Linked DNA regions of Homo sapiens: region 1 is linked to region 2. The links are contacts of gene promoters, found by promoter capture Hi-C in blood cells and fetal thymus (Javierre and others, 2016). All regions are on one chromosome and are shown on one strand. The core of a region is centred on a gene start or on the middle of the fragment in contact, and the rest is flanking DNA. Distances in the headings are between cores, read along the strand shown. Region 1 overlaps LOC124904790. Region 2 holds the start of CEACAM4 (CEA cell adhesion molecule 4).

The links. The method cuts DNA at HindIII sites, captures the fragments that hold promoters and counts their contacts. A CHiCAGO score of 5 or more calls a contact.
Region 1: a fragment that was not itself captured here is called in contact with the fragment with the promoter of CEACAM4 in region 2 in 1 of 17 cell types (total B cells); the score reaches 5.5 in total B cells.

What each region holds. Positions count from the first base shown.
Region 1 is chr19:41,172,432-41,176,633 of GRCh38, forward strand. It overlaps LOC124904790, which reads right to left. Exons shown (of 3, transcript XM_047439802.1): 2 at 3,528-3,638. Among named protein-coding and RNA genes, the nearest start is that of CYP2S1, 19 kb to the right of the region's middle. RefSeq lists an enhancer at 3,151-3,828. The HindIII fragment of the contact is 289 bases long and covers 2,809-3,097 here.
Region 2 is chr19:41,625,824-41,630,035 of GRCh38, forward strand. CEACAM4 (CEA cell adhesion molecule 4) reads right to left here and starts at 1,251. Exons shown (of 7, transcript NM_001817.4): 1 at 1,077-1,251; 2 at 1-137. The coding sequence starts at 1,140. The HindIII fragment of the contact is 7,709 bases long and covers 1-4,212 here.

The DNA of each region.
Region 1 (4,202 bases), core at 1,703-4,202, 450 kb before region 2:
ATTCTGGTGGGGAGTTGGCTGAGAGCCCCTCCTCCAGCTTCCTGGTGGTGGCGGTGTTCCACCTCCTGGGTCCCCACCCTCAGTCTCCCTTGCTCTGCCTTCTCCCCCACCCCACCTCCACATGCTAGAAACCAGGTCCTCTTCTCACCCTCTCTCCCAGGTGAGCCTGGTCACTCACAGAGCTGCAGAATCTGCTGTCTGTCTGCCAAGGACTCCCAACTCTGTGTCCACAGCAAGGATCTGTGCTAAACCACACTGGCCTTGCTGGGCCTCCAGCGCCATACACTCCCTCTTATGGCTTGTAACAGGTGTTTCCCCACCTGGAATGTTTGCTCTCCTCTCTCCTCCAAAGTCCTGCCCCTCCCTGAGGTGAGAAATCAGTTCCCCCACCTCCCCCACAGCCCCAGCACTCTGTGCTGAAATCATCATCAAAAACCCTGGTCTCCTCCAATCCCTCCTGCTACCCTCTCAGCCACCCAACATGCTATTCCCCCTGCAGGAACACTCTTCCCCATGATCTTTCTCGAGTCATTCTTCAGATCCATGTATCCCCTCCTCCAGGAAGCCCTCCCTGATACTCACCACTCTCCGGCCAGGGCAGGCACTTACTCTGGGCTCCCACAGGCCCCCTGGCCTCCCCCATCCCAGCCCCGACCACTCTGGGCAGTCAAGGTCTGGTGACTAACCTGCCTCCTCAACTGGACTGTGGGCCCCATGGGGGTAGGGCTGTCTCTGTCTCTACTGCCTCCCCAGCATCACCCAGTCAGGCCTGGATGCAGGCCTGGCATCAACTCTGCATAAAGGAGCGGAGGTCAGGAGTTCCCTGGGGCCTCAGTGCCTGGCACTGGTGGAGGGGCTTTCTGCATGCCACACTCTGGATCTTCTCCAGCTACTCCTTATTCTGGAAGCTGCAGCATGTTGAAATAAAAACTGGAACTAAATGGAGATGGAATGGACTTCACATTTGGACACATGGGTGTGTAAAGAGGAACGTGACTTCTCCAAAGTAACGCATAGAGGCCGGGCGCAGTGGCTCACGCATGTAATCCCAGCACTTTGGGAGGCCGAGGCAGGCAGATCATTTGAGGTCAGGAGTTCGAGACCAGCCTGGCCAACATGGTGAAACGCCATCTCCACTATAAATACACAAATTAGCTGGGCATAGTGGCACATGCCTGTAATCCCAGCTACTCCGGAGGCTGAGGCTGAAGAATCACTTGAACCCAGGAAGCAGAGGTTGCATTGAACCAAAATCGCACCACTGCACTCCAACCTGGGTGACAGAGCGAGACTCCGTCTCAAAAAAAAAAAAAAAAAAAAGTAACACACTAACCTCCTGACCCACCCAGAGTGGGTCTTACCTTCTAGAAAGATAGAAAAGAATAGAACCAGGCCAGGCTGACTCTGGCAGCTTTAGAACAATAGTAATGGCAGGAGTGGCCGGCGATGGACAGCTGGGGGTGGGACTGAAATAGACAGCAGCCAGGGAATAGTGGGTTGAAGGGAGAAAGGGAGTTATTTTTCTGTAGTCTTTGAAATTTTATTTTTCTCTTTCCTTTTTTGGAGACAAGGTCCTGCTCTTTTGCCCAGGCTGGAGGGCCATGGCGCGATCATGGCTCACTGCAGCCTCGAACTTGAGCGATCCTCCCTCCTCAGCCTCCCAAGTAGGTGGAACTTCAGGCGTCTGCCACCACACCCAGCTAATTTTTAAATTTTTTAAATTTTTTCTAGAGATGGGGGCCTTGCTATGTTGCCCAGGCTGGTCTCGAACTCCTGAGCTCCAGCGATCCTCCCACCTTGGCCTCCGAAAGGCCTGAGCCACCGTACCCGGCTGAAATTTGTAATCAACCCATAATCATCTATTACTTATGTAACTGAATTCCTATGAAAAGCATAATAAAGTGGAGATCATAAAGGTGCCGACTTCGGGCTGTTGTAAGATTTCGGTGCCACACCTAGCACAGAAAAAGCATGGAGAGCAGAAGGGCAGTGAACGCCAGCTGGCACACGTTGGCTACGTGCAAGTATTCGCCTAAACGCTGCGCAGGTATTCATCATATGATCCCCATAAACCTCTGAGGGCTGCACTCACATGTCATCCCCGATCTGCTGATGAGAAGTTCAGTTATAGGCCCAAGGTCACATATCCCGAGCCAGCGTAAAAGTGGAATCCAGGGAGGAGGAGGAGGAGGAGGAGCAGGAGGAGGAGGAGGAGGAGGAGGAGGAGGAGGAGAAGAAGAAGAAGAAGAAGAAGAAGAAGAAGAAGAAGAAGAAGAGAAAGGATTACTGTCCGTCTCTCTCTGGTTCTCTGCACACCCCTCACCTCCAGGGTTTTCAGTCTGTCTCTGGACCATTCTCCTTCTCTCCCCCTGCCCCATTCTCCAAAAGCCCAATGGGGTGACTTGCAGGCTGGGGGCACCCCCTGGTGCCTGTGTGCCGAGTGCAGAAAGTCAGGGCGGTACAGGGTGGAGGCAGGTGAGAGTGTGGGGGTGGTTTGGGTCCCACCGAGATATGGAAAGGTGGGTATCAGAGTAGAGTGCACTCATTCATTTCTTCATCATCACAGCCCAGAGGGTCCACTCTGTTCTGGGAGTGTTGGGGGGTAGGAGTGGAGCAAAACAATGCCCCCAGACGAAGAGAGCAGTGGGAGAAGGAGAGAAGGAGCATCCCAGAGCCATAGACACTTAGGGGCTGTGTGACTCTGGGCAGGTGACCTAGGGTCCTTGAACCTCAGTTTCCTCATCTGAAGATGGAGATGATATGTTAGTATCTCCCTCAGAGTATTAATGGATGCTAGGTACAGTTATAAGCTTCATTTACAGATGAGGAAAACTGAGGTTGGACAACTTGGCCAGTCACATAAAAGACGCAGTGGGGTGCTCCCTCAGCACCACTCTCCGGCTAAGAATTCTGGCTGCAGAGGAGGATGGACTCCAGGAGAAAGAACAGGCCGCCATTCCCATGGTTCAGCATGGACATCGGTGGAATGCTGTTAAATTGGTCTGTTTTGAGGCCGGGAGCGGCGGCTCACGCCTGTAATCCCAGCACTTTGGGAGGCCGAGGCAAATGGATCACCTGAGGTCAGGAGTTCGAGACAAGCTTGACCAACATGACGAAACCCCGTCTCTACTAAAAATACAAAAGTTAGCTGGGTGTGGTGGTGCGCACCTGTAATCCTAGCTACTCAGGAGGCTGAAGCAGGAGAATCACTTGAACCCAGGAGGCGGAGGTTGCAGTGAGCCAAGATCGCACCATTGCACTCCAGCCTGGGCGACAGAGCAAGACTCTGTCTCAAAAAACAAAAAAGGAAGGAAAAGAAAGAGGCAGTGGTGTTAGCAGGGCAATGAGTTGAATTCCAGTAACTCCGGTTCCCCTGGGTTTCCAACCCCCAGACCTCAAGCTTGGGCCTCCACACTCCTCTCCATCCCATCCCCCAAACATGTTCCTGCTAAACTGTTAAGCTCCAGTTCCTGCCTATCCCACCACTTACCCACCACCCCTCTTCTACTCCCCCTGTCTCCACTAACCTGCCGATCCACATATTTTCAACAGCCAAGATCGCTCTCGACCTGTGAGCAGGAAGCCAGTTGTTGAGACAGGTACACTTTCATCCCGTTTAATGACTGTGTCTTCCTCATCTCATGGCAGTGTGAGGCACGGGCACACAGGCCTAGGGAAGGCAGACAAGCCCTGTCCCTGCACTCGCCCCACTTTGGGCTAGGAGAGGAAACCAGCTCAGACAAATAATCTCAGATGCCCGCTGTTTCAAGATCCTCTGGCTGCAGAGGGGAGGGTGGAGGGGAGCGGAACCTGGAGGCCTGGGGCTCTGAGAGGAGAATGGGTGGGGCCTAGATGGGAGGGGAAAGAGCCAGAATAGAATGTGTGGAGGGCAGAAGCGGGCAGATCAAAGCCAAATGCTAGAGGCAGAAGAAAACAGAACCCCATGACTCAGGCGTTTGAAATGAGGAAATTCTCAACCCAGATAGATGCAGAACTGATTCTAAGAGGAAAAGATTAGAAACAACCTAGAGATCTGATCAGATGGGAAATTAAATGGATGGAGAGGTGTGCCAAAGCCTTCTCTGAAACACCTCCCAGGCATTAAAATTAGTGATCCAGAGCCAGCTGTATGGATATGAATGAATCTTAAAAGCTGAAGGACAAAAGCCAGTTGCAGAAGAAGGGATGTGGACTGTGTGCTG
Region 2 (4,212 bases), core at 1-2,500:
CCAATAATAGGCTTGAATAGTTTCTGAAATATTGCAGGCCAGTAGAAGAACATCCTTTCCCTCTGCAGCACTGGACGGCAGGGCTTCAATAGTGAACTGGACAGTGGTGGGCGGGTGCCAGAAGGTTAAAAGTGAGGCTAGGAGGTGAAGACAGCATCAGTCAATACTGGGACCTATGGAGTGGGATGGAAAGATAAGGCCCTGGGTCCTCAGCAGGTCTCCTCATCCCTCAGCCTTGGAGTGTGTGTGTGTGTGTGTGTGTGTGTGTGTGTGTGTGTGTGTGTGTGTGTGTGTGTGTGTGTCCCTGGGTCAGCAGCATGACCCCCATTCCTTCAACAGCTTGGACCTTGGCATTTCCCTGGTGGAATCTTCTTCCCCAGGGGTCTGCACGGCTCCCTCCCCACTGCCCTCAGATCCTGCTCACATCAGGGTGTTTTTGGGAGACCCCTCCCCTGACACCTCCTCTAGAGACCCTGGGTCTTCCCTTTCTGACCTTTCCCAGCTCTGTTCCCTCCAGGGCTCTTGTCAGCACCTGACCTCACATTCTAGATCTCTTTAGGTGTTTGTCTTCCTCCCCATGAGAGCGTGAGCTCTGTGAGGGCGGGGACTTGTGTGATCTTGGTTGCACCCCAGTGCCTGGCACAGGCTGCAGACTCCTGTAGATGAGTTCATGAGCATTCTCAGGGCCTCCAAGTCCTGAGGTTTATTTCCCAGTGTCTGAGGTTGTTGGCTAAGAGCAGTGTTTTATGCCCTGGTTATGTTTTTATTTGAAGTGTCATCTGGTATAGTTATTATCATTTTTCAAAATGTAGTGGCCAGTGATGATTAACCAGGACGAGAGAACACTTGAGATTTTCCTGCCTTTTACCAATTCCAGTTCACTGAGATTTTCCTGTTGTGACCCCTGCCCCTCTCTGATGTTCTCTCCCTTATCCAGCCTCCAACAGAGGCCCTCAGTCCCCTCTCAGAGCCCCAGGAGACCCCAGCCAGAAGCCCTCTATCCCCTCCTACCCAAGAGACCCCAGTCAGTCTCTGTGCTCCCTCTTCCCACCACTCCCAGAGAGTCCTCCCCTCACCTGTGATCAGGAGCCCCTGCCAGGGCCTGTGCCCTCCACGGGGAGCGGCTGAGGGGGGGCCCATGGTCTCTGCTGCCTGCTTGTCCTCTGTGGAGAGGAGCTGGGCTCCAGGAACGCTCTTGTCAGAGCTGCTGTGACTGTCGGCTGTCGGGGCTGCTGACCTTCCTCCTTCTGTGCTGAGCCTCCTCCCGGGCAGAAGCACTTCCCAGGGCCAGGGGCAGAGGCGGGGCTCTTCCCAGGTCACCCCTCTGCCCCTCCCCTCTCATTTCTGCCTTTTTTGTCCCTCCTTCCCCTTTCTCTTCTGTGTACATTACAGTTTCCTAACCACACTTTGAGAAGCAGGGTTGGTGGAGTCCCCTGTCCCCAGAGAGGGTGACTTGTCACCCCTGCACTGACCCTTTGGGAATGTCACCACAAACAGAGGTACTCTGGGGTCTCCCAAACTTGGGGAACTGTTTCCTTTTGTGACACAGAGACCCAGCTGGGCCCCCAGGTCTCCTCATGCTCCCCAATACTCAGGGAGTGTGAGATGATACCCAGCAGGAAGGTGACAGAGGTGGCTCTGTGGGATAGAAAATGGGGGGCGACTACGGGGGGGACCAGTCCTCTCTCTCCAGTGTCACCAGCCTTGCCTCTGACCCAGGGACAGAGATCCAGGCCTGGGGGTCTCAGGAGGATCCCCAGCTCCTGGATGTGGAGGGAGGTGTCCTGCATGTCCTGGGAAGAGAGGACTGTGGTGGAGGGAGGTGGGTGGCTCTGGGTTCTGCTGTCCTTGAGGAGGGATTCAGGGAGATCCTCCCTCTCCGTTTCTGTTGGCTGAGCTGTGGCTTAGGGCCTGTGCATGTTCTCCCTTACCATCCCGGGTGGCCTCTGTCCTCTGTGAAGGTGATTGTCCTGTTGTCACTGTACCTTCCCCATGCATGATACCAGGAGAAAGTGGAGAACTGAGCAGAGAATCCTGGCAGAGCAGGATCCTCAGAGGCTCCAGGAAGGATCAGGAGAGACAGAGCAGGCACATGGGAGGGACTGGAAGGGCCTGCTGGAGCAAAGTATGGAAACCAGGCTTCACCTCCACCTCCTTAGCAAAGCCAGATTCCTGTCCAGGGGAATCCATTTCCTGTGTTGTCTGCGTGCAATGTTGCCCCTGGAGAGCAAGAGGAACCCTGTGGTAAAAGTCAGGGGCTTCCCCAGGGATGCTGACCAGGGTCCACGTGGTATGAGTTGGCCCTGGCCCCTGGGCAGAGGTGGGCTCTGACCTCCAGACTGCAGGGTCAGGTCATCCTTGGTCCTGTTCACTGTGGGTCCCCAGGATGTCCAACTCCATGCAGTGCAGGATGAGCTCAGGGAGAGGACGAGAGTTGTCCAGAGCACTCCTGGTCCTGATTTGGGAGAACTGTCCTGCAGGCGGATGGGCTGCCTCAGAAAGAGCCATCCGTCCCCAAGGTTTCAAAAGAAGGGCCCAGGGAGGTGTCTCTGGGGGTTTAGAGAGAGGGCACTGGCCTGGGAGGTGGTCCTCGGTGTGTTCTGTGTTCCTCCATCACAACACTGGGAGTTCCGCCTCCAGGTCATCTGTGTCCCTGTCTGTCACCTGCCCCAGGCCTCTCCACAGGGCCCAGGAGCTGGGGCAGCTCCTACCTGCAGGCTGCAAGGGATACCTGGTTCCTGTATTAGAGCAGGGGAGGCCCCGTGACCCTCAGTCCCTCTGAGATGGAAACAAAGGCAGATCCTGGGTTATCCTGTCCCCTCCTGCAGGAGAAGTTCCCCTGGATCCCCTGGTGAAATGTCTGCAGGGACCATAGGCAGATGTCCCAAATACTGGGGATCTCGAGGCTGGGGAATCACTCCCTGACTTTCTTGTGGTCATTCTGCCCTGGTGGAAGATCCACCTGGGATCGAATATCCGGAGTTTGTGTCAGTTTTGGTGTGTTTGTGAGAAAGACATATGTTAGAGCCTGGAGGGAATGTCAGTGAATGATGTCAGGGAATGAATTGGGTTTGCCCCTCACTGTTAGAAAGACCCTGAATTCCCTCCCGATGCTACTAGGGTAAAAGCCATGTTCTTATGCTCATTTCTCTAAGGAAATGCAAATAGAGTTTATTAAGGCGTTTCTGGCCAACTAAGGTGGATTTTGTCATGTAGACACAATATAGACCATAATACATGTACATATGCAAAAACACACCTAAACACATATCCACAAACAAATAAAAATCTTACAGCTTTCATTTTAGAATTTTAGTGATGAGATAGTAATACAAACTCACTAGTTGATTAAAGTCAACTGGATCCAATTGTATTTCTGACAAATTGGAATCGTTAACATGGATAAACTTTATTTGCCCCTATAGGTAATATAATGAAGGCTGGGGGAAATATTTTGGGTAAAGCAGTTTCTAATGGCAGTGTAACTTATAAACAAATAAACAAATGAAACCTCTACAGTTTCAGCATCTTTTTTTTTTCTGTTTCACATGAGTTTAGGATTAAATTTTCAATTGCTTACACTTTAGCTAGAACTGGCTGAATTGTATAAGAAAAAAAAATCTCCAACTAGCCTTAAACTAGATTTTTTGTGTGGGTTGGAGGGGGGCGGGTGGTGGTGATGTGGTTTGCTTGATTAACAAATGTGGATGAGGAAGGATTTTAGCTTTTTTTCCTGGCTTTTTCTTTTTTGCCTCTGCATGGCAAAAGAAGAAAAAAGTTTATGTCGGACAGAGACACCTTAAATTATTGCTCTGAGTTCAAGATTTTGACCTGTATGATCTGAGAGCCTAACTTTTATAACCATGTATTTTTTTAATTATTGATTTTTAATTGTGCTCCATTATAAGCAATTATTAGTTAGACAAACTTAAATTTACATTTCCTAAAGGTGTCTAAGTTGTTTCTTATCATGGAGTTGTTTAATTTGTAAAGCCATTAATTTTAAAGCCCTTCAAGATTTCTTTTTTAAAACTCTGGGCTAGAATGCCATAAGCAGTGAGTTTTATCTCAACACCAGTAGAAAAGTCAGCAGATTCAAAGTAGGTAGAGAAAAAAAAATAGAGAATTTAGAAGACTCTACATTTCCACCCTATAGATGCAGGGCTTTTTAAAACAGGTTGAATGATGATCATTGAGTACTGAATTTTCCTT